Linked DNA regions of Homo sapiens: regions 1, 3 and 4 are each linked to region 2. Evidence: promoter capture Hi-C in 16 types of primary human blood cells and fetal thymus (Javierre and others, 2016). All regions are on one chromosome and are shown on one strand. The core of a region is centred on a gene start or on the middle of the fragment in contact, and the rest is flanking DNA. Distances in the headings are between cores, read along the strand shown.

Region 1 (3,253 bases), core at 55-2,554, 2.4 Mb after region 2:
AAAGCACGACCTGCCCTGATATGCTGTTGACGCTGAGCATGAAGCGACCTTCTCTGTGCCTGTTATTAATGAAAGGTAATATTCACTGAACACTTAGTATACACCAGAGACTGTTACAGCCACTGTAGGAGTTTCACCTCATTCTATCCTTTCAACAACCCAATACGATAGATGCTATTATCCTCTTTAGGATAAAATCGAGGAAACTGAGGTACAGTGAAGTCAGCATCTTGCCCAAGGTGACACAGCTATAAAGTGACAGAGCCTAGAGGAAATGTGGCTGTGGAGACCGTGCTCTTACACAGTAAGGGCAGTGACGGTGAACTCTGGATTGCAAGGATTCTCTGTGTCCATTCTGAGATGAATCAAGATTGGTCATAAGGTTTTAAGTGTTGAATCTGGGTGATGGAGATCTGGTCTATAGAGTTCTATCTACTTCTGGCTGTTTGAAATTTCTCCGCAATAAAAACTTAAATGGAATGTAAAATCCCAAAGCCTGGCCACACCAGGGGCCTGGGAATCCGTAATTCTTGCGATCAATGACGGTCCCTGGGACCTTTGGAAAAAACCTGTCCTGTGCGTCCCAGCCAGACTTCCTCCTCCAACGCCCGAACCCGGGGGTGACCAACCAAAGTGAAACCCTAAGATCGCGGCAAAATGGCCACCCCAGATCCAGTCTAACCTTGGCTTGTTTGGTCAAGCCAGACCGCTCCTCATTCCACTCCAGCAAAGCCGAAGAATAGTGTGGCCCCAAGAGACTAGCCCTCAACCGACCAATGCCTCGGGGACACATGGCCCCAGGGATGGTTCCCATTCCACCACCTGGGAAATACCATTCCCCCAAAAAGCTTATTTATTCAACTCCCCCAAAACCGGGGACTTATGGCATCAGCGACTCCCTTTCCCAATACCCGACTTCAGCCAAAGCCGAACCTGTCCCCACCCACAAGAACCCTAGGAGAGAGAGCCCGATCCCCCACTCATCACCATCCAGTTTCACGGATGGGCTTCACCCAACTCCCCTGGAGATGCACGCCCACACCCCCAAAATAAGACATCTGGGAGAGGACGGCCTGCGCCACGCCAGCGCGTTCCCACCACAATCACCACCCCCGCGCCACCCGCACGGTCCCCAAATTCAGCCCATAGTCCAGCCTTTCGGGACCTTCCTTTTCGCGCAGAAAAGGGTACGGCTGCGGCAAGGGTCCCGCGGGAGCCTCACTCACCAGCGCCACCAAAGAACAAGGGGTCGCTCCAGCCACCAGCTGGGGAGCTCCTCCAGCGGGGCGCCAGGACTACACTACCCCGAATCCTCGGCACAGCGCCCGGACCACACCTCCCAGGATGCTCGGCGCCACCAGGCGCGCCCTGAAGGCCGGCAGCTCCCATTGGCCTCTGACGGATCCGTTTCTGAGTAACACGCTCCGGTCACCGGAGAATGGCCACTGTGGCACCTGAATTCTCCCTCTTTTTTCTTAACCACGTGCATAAAACACGTAGGAGCTCCCGAGAAGAGTGCCTGGCCCTACTGTGACCCTCCTTCTGAGCGCCTCTGTCTCGAAAACTACACTTCCCAGTGACCCCTGGAGCGACTTCCGCACCCGGTACCGGCCCCGCCCCTTGGCGCGCGGAAATGACGTTTCGGGGCGCATCTGTTCGGCTTCTGGGGTTGGCGGAGGTGTACCGCTGGCTGACCAAGCTTGTTCAGGTGCTGGTTTGTGTTGCAGCGGCCTGTGGTCTCCCTGGCTCCAGCCGCCTGCTTGGAAAGTCACGCCCCATATTCCTAAACACCGGGCGAACGTCATGTCGTATACCCTTTAGCTCCATTTAAAGCCTTGAAAAGGCCGAGCAGTCTGCCTGAAGTCTCACATCCCGTACGAGGTAGACCCGATTCTGAGCCCACGCCCTCAACCCGAATACACCTTTTCCGGTGCCCTGAGACCTTTTTCTTCTTTTTGAAATCCACGAAGTTATTGTTAAACTCTCATCTCCTGAGAAGCAGAAGCCTCAGTCTCGGGCCAGAGCTTGGCCTGCCGTCGGCTTGGATCTCTAGGTCTTTGTCCGGGATCCTGGTTGAGAACAAGATTGCGCTGGTGCCATCTGGGACGCCCCATCTGGGGAGCTCGAGGGGAAGGCCCACGTCACTCTTGAGAGGGCTTTTCCACCCGTGCACCCTCTCACTGCCCTTCACCTTCCTCAGATAGGCTTTCTGAAACTTTGTCATTCTCTTGGAAGACCAAGAAAATGACCACTGTCTGAAGGGCCAGGGAGATGAGAATTTCCTAAAATTCTTTTGTAGCTCTCAGAGGGTGAATCCATTCCCTTCTGGTACCCCGAGGCTACATTATTTATTGTGAATTCAGTTCAGTCCTGGCTCCGGAGACATGTCCAGTGTCAATTGGATTCATCCCTCAACATCATTCTCTGCCTCATGAGTCAGTCATCACCAAGAAATTAGTTGTTAATACACATAAAGGTTCAGAACAACAATGCAGGGATGCCTGTGTTCAAGTGTTCACTTGTGCTGGCTGTACAATAAAGACACAGATGGCTGACATCTCTTAAGCCTGGAAATGAAGACTTACAGGATGAGGTGCTGCCTGAGGAATTAGGCAAGATGAGGAGTTGGAAGAACACAGACGAGTAAGGAAGAGTGTAGGAAGTGTGAACAGAATCTCAGGGTCTGAGCCACTGGGTGGACTGTCATGACCACAGTGAGATTTTCAGCAGCACGTGGTCTTGCAGCCAGCTGACTTGCATATAGACAGGGATGCTAGATGTCCACCGTCTAGATGTACAGCTCTGTCATACAGATATTTGGTGTGTCCAGCCTCCAGTTTCATCTTTGACAGACCTCAGCATTTAATAATTAGGAGTTTCCATCTAGAAATCTGGATTGCCTGCTTTCTAAAACACTCTTTGCTGCCATGTCCTCTTTTTCTCCTGGCATTTCCCACCCACTCCATGCCATACCTCATCTGGAATACCCTTAGCTCCTCTGAATCCATCTGGTCCTTCAAGACCAAATACCTAGCTCTCTTTCGTGAAACCTTCCCTGATCACTATACTATAGTGACTACTTGAGACTCTTCTAACCCTGGCTGTACTTGGAAGCTTTTAAAAATACAATGCCTGAACACCACCCCAAGAAATGAGTTTGCAGTGGAGCCTGGGCATCCATTATTCATAACAGAGCTGTTTTCCTCTTGAGAAGGGAAGATGTTGTGTAATAATGTAGAAGAGAGATCTTGTT
Region 2 (2,990 bases), core at 315-2,814:
GACTTAAGATAAGACATTATTTTGCTCTCTTGTTACACTTTTAGAAGTTTGTGGTCCTGATCTGTTATCATCTGGGGACTCAGGCTGGTAGGGCCGCTCTGCCATCATCTTGAGCATGGGGCTTTCATCTCCGGGTCTGAGAGTGATCCATGTTATTGGGTTTATCAGTAGTCTGTTCTTTTTTATTGCTGAGTAATATTCCTTTGTATGAATGTGTCTATACAAAGGAATATTACACAAATCTAAAAATAGAGAGACGCTCTAAAACTGTGAGTTTATTTATTTATTTTTTCCTTTTCGCCTGCCTGGTTGAAATATGTAGGACTACTTTAGCTTTTTATTGTATTTCATTTAATAAACTTTTATTGAGTGACCCTATGGGCCAAATACTGTGCTGAGGGATGGGGATACAAAGGCGTGTAAATCCTTGTCTCTTCCCTCAAGTTACAGTTCAGCTAGAGGAGAAAAAGACAGTTGTGTTGTCCCAATTTGGATGGAAACCACGTGATTCTACCTTAAGTACTTGCTGAAAAAGCTGAAAGGATGTCAAAACTTGCAGGATTCGGATGCCACTATACAATCCTACAGTGTAAGAAATCTCCTGACCATCTTTCAGCTCAAAGTCTTGCCCCAGGGAATAAGCGCCTGGCTTTAAAAAGTATACAGGCCTGAGTCAGATCCCTCAGGTTCTATTTCTGGTTCTGCTACTGGATCGCCATGTGGCTTGCACAACAGAGAACGCACCCTTCCTACAAAGAGGCAAGATCCCAAGGAGCCCTCTGAGCGAGCGACCTCCATACCCCAAGTGAGGTTGGGTTCCAGGAACCTAGGGGCCGGCTGAACTCCTCACCGGGGCACGCTCTTCCCTAGTGCCAAAGCAACTCATTTTAGTGTGAAATTAGAGCTGCGATTTCGGCACGGTCAGAGGGGCTTCGACTCGCTCCCTTGTGTGAATCCAGAAGCTAAACCTAAAAATAGTTTGCATTTGAAAAGCCTTGACACTTTTCTTACTGAGATTTTTGGGCGTGTGTGGTTCACGTTGCACTAGAGGAAAATGGGGTGGGCGCGCAGGAGGGAGAGTGAAACCACGGGCGATCTAGGCTGCCGGGGCAGGGGACGGACAGAGGCCGCCCTGCGCTTCTGCGACCCTGGAAAAGAGGTCGCAGCGCGTCGCCTGCTGGAGAACTTCATTTCCCAGGAGCACTTGCGGCCCGCGGCAGGGCGGGGCGACGTGCCCAATGCCGGCCCACTGACTCCCATCGTGCCGAAGACCGCCAGCCTGATTGGAGGACTGTCTCGCGGTGCATCTCGGGACTTGTAGTACAACGTGTGCGTGAGAGAAGCTCCTTTGTGATTCGAGGCGCCTTCTCGGCCCTCTGAGCGCGTCCCCGCTAGGTTTTGGCGCGGACGGGCTAGTGTCCCGCCAGGAGAGTTCGGCCTGTGTGCGCGTGCGTAGCGCCCAAGGGGCCGGCCGGCACCTCCCGCGGGGCGGGGCCTTCGGTTCCCCGTCGACACCGCCTTCCTGCCCCGCCCCTCGCCGTGACCGGCCCGCCCCTCCTTCCTGGAGACACAGCTGAGGCGGCGGCGGCGGCGGCGGCGGCGGCAGCAGCGGGGCTGGGGGCGGCGAGTGGCCCGCGCGACACGCGCCGGCCTCGACCCTATGCTTTGATTCGCGTGGCGCAGGCGCCTACTGCCCCGCCGGCGGGGCCCGGGCTTCCTGCCGCGGGATGTTCTCCCGAAGGAGCCACGGGGATGTGAAGAAGTCCACCCAGAAGGTGCTGGACCCGAAGAAGGACGTGCTGACCCGCCTGAAGCACCTGCGGGCGCTGCTGGGTGAGGCGCGCGCCGGGCGCGGGGGTCGGGGCGCCGGGTTAGGGGCACCTGCCGGGAGGGCGCTCCTCTGTGCAGGGGTCGGTGGCTGGGAGGCTGGGGAGGGGGATGGGTGGGCGTCCGACCCCCTTCCCTGGATCTGGGCTTGGACCCCCGGGGCTTTGTTTCCAGAAAGCCGCAGCCTGGCCCTCGGGCACTGCTCCCGTCGCCCTCGAGTTAAACTTAGCCCAGATTCTCGCTGGGCGCCTGCGCTCCCGGAGAACCTGGAGGCCGGGCACAGAGGTACCTGTCCCCTGTCCTCCCAGCAAGTGAACTGGATCCCAAGTGGTCATCACGTGCACACATTGAACTGTCACCTCCCCCTTTCATTTTTAAAATTTTATTTTTGAGTCTGAGACCCTAAGTAGACCGAGACCCCAAGTGAACCCAGCACAGACCTAATTGGGCTCTCATCTCTGTCATCCCCCTTTTAAATTTTATTTTTACTTTTGAGTGTGAGACCCCCATATAGACCGAGATTCCAGGCGATCCCAGCACAGATTTGTCATCTGTCTTCCCATGCTGCTTTTTAAATTTAATTTTTATTTTGGGTCTGGCTGCTTCAGTTTCTTTGTGTCCTTGGTGTGAAGGGGCCTTCTCTTCCTGCTTGGAGAGAGGGGTGGTTTTCTTGGGTTCAGGGAGGCTGCTTCTCCTTTATTACCGGCATGACAGTGATGCTGTCTGCCACCTTCTGGTTTATGGCCTGCCAGGTGGAGGTTCTGAGGAGCTCAGGTGGGCTTGGAGTTGACCTGTGATGAAGCTCGCCCCTGTGGGTGTGAGGTGTCCACAAGGCTTCCTGTCACCTGCTGCATGTGATCTGTAGCTGGTTCGCCTAGGCTATGTTTTGTTTTCTGTATTTTTTTACATCCTAAGTCTTAACTTTTCTTTGGGATGAAAACACCTTTGCTATCTATAGACACACTTACCTGTGTATTTGGTGGCGAAGGAAAGAACACCTTATGTTTCTTCCAGGTGTCTTTTAGTCCCAAAATTCACAAAAATCGCCTAGTGCTAATGTGTCTGTCACTTGAAAGAATATTGCATAAAATGATTTAACGTGTGAAGATTTTAAATAAAGATCTTGTTCATGAGATCAGAAGTTGCTGATTATTTCTATTTAT
Region 3 (2,964 bases), core at 327-2,826, 2.6 Mb after region 2:
GGAACATTTGATGTTCAGTTAGGGTCCAAAGCCAAGCTCTAATCCATCCCTACCCAAACCCTTCAAACATCACTTCACTGACGTCAGATCATCTGTCATACTAAATTTTACTCCATCTCAAGTTTTCCCAGGATCAACATCTTTTACTTTTCCTTGTAAGAGGCGGAAGTCTTCTGCCTCTATTCCAAAAGCCAGCCCCTTAGGAGCACATTTTAATCCCAAATCTCTGATCTCTCCTGTGCCCTTTCATTGTTAAGTCATCTCAACCCCTCGTCAAAATTCTTGTACCATCACATGCTTCCTCTCTTCTAATTTCCACAGTCTGTGAACACCAAGAACAAAGACCTCATCCACTTCATCTCTGTATATCAAGCACATAGCACAGTCCAAAGGTCTGGGTAGGCAAATCAAGAAAAGACTGTTTACTCTTGATTCATCCAGTCCATTATTTTCACCCTTGGTGAACTAGGTTCAACCCCAATCACTGCCAAGTTGTTTTCTGAAAATTCACCAATGACCCTGTTCTCAGCAAGGTCGTGAATCACTGATAGACTCTGGAAGAGTGGAGTTTCCTTATCTTTGTATTCCCAAGGTGCTTAGTGAGGTAGCTTCCACACAGTAATCACCCATTAAAGGTCTGTCAACTTGAATAAGAAAGAAAATATGAACTGAGAGGACAGAATAGTCACTGCTGATCAGCAGGTCACGGATATTTCCTGAAATAAAAGTACCAAAAAAAAAAATCTGGAGACTGTTATCTCTATCGTTCCCAGATTCTAGTTTCCATAGCAAACTGTTCATTTAAACGAGAAGTGCAAACATCTCACCAAATTATCTTGGTCAAAGGCATGGAGAGTGAGTACGGGGAAGGGGGGCTCCCTTACCATGGGATAAAATCAATAGCACGTAAAACACATTAGGCTTTAACCCCAACCTTGGGCCAGGAGGGAGGCTGGTAGCTTGCAGAATGCACCCCAAGAAACTCCTTCCCCACCTTCTATTTTCTAGCGGCCCAAGTGAGATGTGGAAAGGTCCGCACCCTGCGGGCCGGCTGTGACTTGAAAACAGAGCCACTGGGCACCCCAAAAGCTTGCGTGCCGTGCCTGTGCGGAGCAAGGCCCCTTCAGCGCGGAGCTCCAAAGGCGCTAAGCCGGGCAGCCGGGTCGTCCTGAATCTGCGGGCTGCACACGCCCGCCGGGAGCTGCAGCGCCCGGAGCCCAGCAGAGCGGCCGCCGGCCGCAGCCGCAAACGCGTGGGGTGCAGGGCCGCGCCACCGCGGGGGAAAGACACGAAGAGGAGCTGAGGAACCGAGCGGGCAGAGACCACGAGAGGCCCCAGGTCGACGCCGCGCGCGCGGGCCCGGAAGAGACGGTCACGTGACACCGACCTGCTGGTCCCACTGCTGCTTCACATGTACGCCGGCCACTGTGGCCGCCGTCAGCAGCACCGAGAGGCCCAGCACCACCTTCGAGCTCCTAGACATCCCCACGCTGGCGGCCGCGGCCTCTCTCTCCCGCCCGCCCGAGGCGCAGAGGCCGCCGCAGAGTGCGCACCGCCGCCTGTACTGCCCAGGCTCGACCCCTCGAGCGCAGAGCCCCAGCCGTCGCGTGCGCCGCTCGCCGCTGCCAGGCGTGAGCAATCGAGAGCCGAGCATAGAGCGGCGCCCAGGCTCTACGAACTCTTGGCTTCACTAGGGGCCTCCTGCACACCCCGCAGGCGACAGCGTTAGACCACCCCCGATTCAAATTCTAGGAGTCCCGGCCCAAACTGGCCCCGGCACCTTACCAGGGTGGAGGGTGGGGGTTCCATGCCCCTCAGTCAGTTCAGTACCAACCTCACCCCGGGCGGGGTCTGGATACCGTGCTGACCCCTCTCCCACAGACGTCCCTTCTGAGCCCCTGACTGATCCAGAAGCTTCGCCCAATACCGGCTTCGCCTAAACGCAGCCCCCTCATTGCTCCTTTGGCGGGGCAGGCGCCACCAGGAGACCGCCTCGTTAGGCAGCTTCAGAGGCGCGGGGTTCCCATCCGTGGAGTTTTTGCCTGAGGACCCATTATTAAACGCTGTAGTCGCGGTCACCTGGTTTCACCTTGACGCTGTGGGGCGACTGGTCAGGCTCGGATTATTATTATTATTATTATTATAATTTTGATACAGAGTCTCTGTCTATCGCCCAGGCTGGAGTGCAGTGGCGCGATCTCGGCTCACTGCAACCTTACCGGATTCAAGCGATTCTCCTGCCTCAGCCTCCCGAGAGGATTACAGGCGTGAGCCACCGCGCCTGGCCCCATGTAATCTTTGTGATCACTTTTACACCCAAGTTTCCGCGCCAGTAATACAAGGGAAATAAATGATATAAAGAAGTCTTGCGTTGGGAATAGTTAAGCAATTGTGCAAGACGCATTTTCACTTCTTCCTCGGGTAAAAAAGGCAAGGCCTCCCAGAAACTTTTAAGTATCTGATAGAGCAACCAGTGAAAACGTGTTCATCATTCAATCATTCTTTCCCACTAGAATTCACAGAGAACGAGCTTCTTCCGGTGGACACGGCTATAGGCAGTATTGATTAAGCCTCACCAGGGAGTTTTACAACATTCATTACTGTTCATAGTGCTTTGCTATTCCAGTCTCTTATGTGAGCGTAAATGGCATAAGGGGACTATTGCTCTTAAAGGTATCTTTAAAGATACCTTTTCCAAATGTCATTTTGTCCACAGCATTTTTTGCAGCCTAGAGAGAATGTACCACTGAATTGGAAAATGGAGTTCTTGCTGTAATGAACTTTGAGAAGAAATTCAGTTCAGGGTGTATTTGCATATTTCTCTTTAAAAATTATATTAGACTTCTTTTTATTCGTGGTATATCCTAGATATTTTCCCCTGTAAATCAGTGAGCCTTCAACAGAGCTGTATGTCCTTAGAGTGTACATCAGGGAATTAGATCAATCGCCTTTCATTTTATTGTG
Region 4 (3,167 bases), core at 115-2,614, 2.6 Mb before region 2:
GGCCTGGTGCCCGGATTCAACTCAGACTACTCAACACACTCTTCCCCTCAGCCTTGCCAAAGGCAAAGGGCTATCTTTAGCCCCTAAATCTTTCCACTGCAGCGGGCATGCAAATTTCACCAACCCCACCTAAGGCCTCCAGATACCGTCACCCCATCGTCATTTCTGCTGCTTTGCCACAAACTCCCTGAATGTGTTTTCTCCCTGCCCTTCAGCTCCTGAATCTACCTTCCTCTTTGATTCCTGTTTCCATCCATCCAAAGCACATGCCTTCCTTCTAGCCTCCTTCGGCCAGACCACAGATGTCACCTCGGATTCAACGTGTCTAGAAAAAAAGTTGTCATCATCTTCCCTGATAAACTAGTCCCACCCCTCTCCCCTTCTCCAGTCTCATCAATGAGACCGCTCCCCACAACTAGCAGTCCCTCAAACATGGAAAAGACTGCCCTCTGGGAGTTCCGCTGTAAACAGGTACCTATGAGGCTTGATCAATGTCGCCTGAAGGAGACGCCCCAGTAAAACTGTGAGAACACTGACAAAGCCTAAGGAAGGGATCTATAAGAGTGGGGCTCTTATAGAGCCACTGGGGTTTCAGTGGTCCCAGCCCCAGCCTGGGGAAACAAGACTGCAGAGGGCTCTCTCAGCCTGATGCCCTGACTTCCCCAGACCTCTGCCAACAGGGCCCTCGAGGAGACCTGATTTCTCAATCAACAAAGTGGGTTCTGAGCGCGATTTCCTATGTTGCTTGGCTACTGGAGTGCAGGCACTGGAGGTGGCGACAGGGCAGTCTGCGGCCGGTGACAGCTGCGTATCCGCCGAATCTCATTGGCATTCCGGCCGCCTCCCAGTGCGCCCGGCATCTGCACCAACGTCGGCGGCCCCTGAATCCCCGAGGCTCACGGGGCCAGAGCCCTTCCAGGAGACGCTGCTACCCGCAGCCCAGTCCACGGCCACAAGGGCCGGGGTTTCCAGTGGGGCTTAAATCCGCCGCTGTCCTCGCCGCCCTCACGGCACCTCCCACCCTTCCCGCGCCACTTGGCCGCCCCAGCGCCCGGACGCCGCTCGGCCACTCCAAAGACGACCCAGAGAACAAACTACTGCAGCCACAGAGAAGCCCCTCCTCGGCCCGACGCGCCGCCTCCCGACGCGGGCATCCGGGGCCGCGTGGATCAGGCCCTCGGGCCGCCCCCTGCCCCCGCTCCCGCATCCCCGAGACGCGCAGGTCCACAGAGCAGCCGGGGCGCGCGGACAAAGAGGCGGCGGCGGGCGGCGAGGGGCCGGAGCCAGGCCTACGGGCCGCGCACTCACCTCCCAGCCGGCGCCCCCGCTGCAGCCGCTGTCCGCTGGACCAGGCCGGTAGGAACGGCCGGCCCGGCTGGGCGTGGCGTAGCACCCTGCGCGGGCACCGCCGATTGGTCGCTGCAGGCCCCTCCCCTCCCGCGGCCGGCCCCGCCCCTGGCGGGGCTGAGGAAGGGGCTGAGCCACACGTCGGGCGGCGGAGCGGTTCGGGCAGTTACCTGATCTGGCCGCGCGACTGACTGGCGACGCCGGATTGCGTCACCCGCCGCATTGCGTCACCCGCCGCGAGCCAAGGCCTGCGCCTGCGCAGGAGACAGCGACGTCTGCGCTGCGGCACGCCACAGGGGGGCGGGGCCAGTCGCGAAAAGTCACGTGAGCGTCAGATTCGCGTGGTCACTTTCGCGTCCATTCCGGGCTTCTGGCCGCAAGGCGCCAGCGCTTCCGGGCCCCAGCAGCCTGCGGTCAGGGCCTGCAGCTGGCTTCCCACTAAGAGCTGCTCACGTCCCCGAGGCCGAGCGCACCCTTAGGGCACGGTGGCCACGCGAGGGACCTCGCGGAAAGCCGGGCTTGGAGCTGGTACTCACCTTGGCTACTAGGGGCGCAGATGCCTCCACGGGCGCTGGAGAACTGGCGCCAGGCGGGGCTCGGCGCGGCGCTCTCCTCTGGGGCGCTTCTTCCGCGGTGCCCCCGCCCTGCTGGGGGGCTCGGCGCGCCAGGAGCCGGGACCGCACCCTGCCGTCTTTACTGCAGGGCTTTATTTCCAGGAGTTCCCATTCGGGCGAAAGCTTTGTTCACTACAGAACTTCCCCAGAGACCCATCCACTCTTCGGGGAAAGCACAATTGATTCCCTAAGATTCGCTGACTCCTCGAAATCTTGCTGTTTCCACCAATTCTTGCTCAATACTAACTAAAGCCCGCTTTGAAACACCTTCCTTGAGTCAGACTTCCAGTTCTCAATAAACTGACCTTGCCTTTTGCTCCCAGCCATTGGTAAAGCTTTGCCAGGTCATGCTGTCCCTTACTGTGGCCAGCAGTTAACTCAGCCTTGTCTTACCGACACGTTGAGTTTGTAATGTTTGGGGACTGTCAGGACAAATACAAATTTAAAATAAGGTTTACTACTTCCTGTTGAAAATATGAGATTTCCCTCCCTTTTTCTTCGAACATTTACTTTTAGAAAATTGGTAATTAGTGTAAGTACTTTTTCCTCTCTTTGAAATATATAAATCCTTTTGAAGACTAGTTAGGCCTTTTTGTGCGCTTTATAACCTAGATATGTCTTTTTCTAGGACCTAGGAGCCATCTCTTTAAGTATCAAGGGAGTTAATGCCCCTGTCTCCCAGTTTTAATGGGGGAGTAGGAGCCTAACTTCAGTGGGCCCTTTGCTCCAACTTACAAAATTATCTCATATCATAAAGATACAAGTTTCTTTTTCCTCTAGATAAAGCCAATTGGCTAACACAGAGGATCATCCCAAATATCAGGTTAGATGAACTGTGTGTGATGAAAAATGCTGCCAAGTTCCCTTGAGAGCTAGTTATTGTTTATCTTGAAAATGTGTGTAATAGATTGCTTGGCTGCACAAAAGAGTGAGATTTCGTTCTGTCTTTGCAGTCTCTTAATGGATTGCCTGTGATGGGTATCACATTCTAGTTTAATGCTTATTCAATTACAAAGTGTTTTCTTTCTCCACTACCTTTCTGAAGAGGGTTGGGAGATTGTACTTTTAATTATATTTCCTGAACAGGAGCCAGCTTCCCACACATAGTAGGTGCTCAATAAATATTTGAAGAATGAATGAGTGACAGAAATCTTTCTTAGGCCGACTCTCTATATTTGCATTCCATGATTTGAAGAAATTGGAATG

What was found. The method cuts DNA at HindIII sites, captures the fragments that hold promoters and counts their contacts. A CHiCAGO score of 5 or more calls a contact.
Region 1: the fragment with the promoter of ZNF133 here is called in contact with the fragment with the promoter of RALGAPA2 in region 2 in 2 of 17 cell types (fetal thymus and naive CD4 T cells); the score reaches 8.9 in fetal thymus.
Region 3: the fragment with the promoter of PET117 here is called in contact with the fragment with the promoter of RALGAPA2 in region 2 in 1 of 17 cell types (activated CD4 T cells); the score reaches 7.2 in activated CD4 T cells.
Region 4: the fragment with the promoter of GZF1 here is called in contact with the fragment with the promoter of RALGAPA2 in region 2 in 1 of 17 cell types (neutrophils); the score reaches 6.3 in neutrophils.

Annotation. Positions count from the first base shown.
Region 1 is chr20:18,286,578-18,289,830 of GRCh38, reverse strand. ZNF133 (zinc finger protein 133) reads right to left here and starts at 1,304. Exons shown (of 7, transcript NM_001352452.2): 1 at 1,227-1,304. RefSeq lists enhancers at 572-691, 1,252-1,591, 697-1,602, 1,682-1,731. The HindIII fragment of the contact is 851 bases long and covers 851-1,701 here.
Region 2 is chr20:20,711,218-20,714,207 of GRCh38, reverse strand. RALGAPA2 (Ral GTPase activating protein catalytic subunit alpha 2) reads left to right here and starts at 1,564. Exons shown (of 40, transcript NM_020343.4): 1 at 1,564-1,833. The coding sequence starts at 1,728. RefSeq lists enhancers at 1,104-1,303, 1,128-1,422 and a silencer at 1,414-1,673. The HindIII fragment of the contact is 11,955 bases long and covers 1-2,990 here.
Region 3 is chr20:18,136,475-18,139,438 of GRCh38, reverse strand. It overlaps PET117 (PET117 cytochrome c oxidase chaperone), which reads right to left and starts at 1,576. Exons shown (of 2, transcript NM_001164811.2): 1 at 1,388-1,576. The coding sequence starts at 1,483. It overlaps KAT14 (lysine acetyltransferase 14), which reads right to left and starts at 1,576. Exons shown (of 11, transcript NM_001392073.1): 1 at 1,388-1,576. RefSeq lists a silencer at 1,088-1,207. The HindIII fragment of the contact is 825 bases long and covers 1,092-1,916 here.
Region 4 is chr20:23,360,379-23,363,545 of GRCh38, reverse strand. It overlaps GZF1 (GDNF inducible zinc finger protein 1), which reads right to left and starts at 1,364. Exons shown (of 6, transcript NM_022482.5): 1 at 1,309-1,364. RefSeq lists silencers at 1,079-1,568, 1,989-2,078 and an enhancer at 1,639-1,898. The HindIII fragment of the contact is 6,657 bases long and covers 1-2,086 here.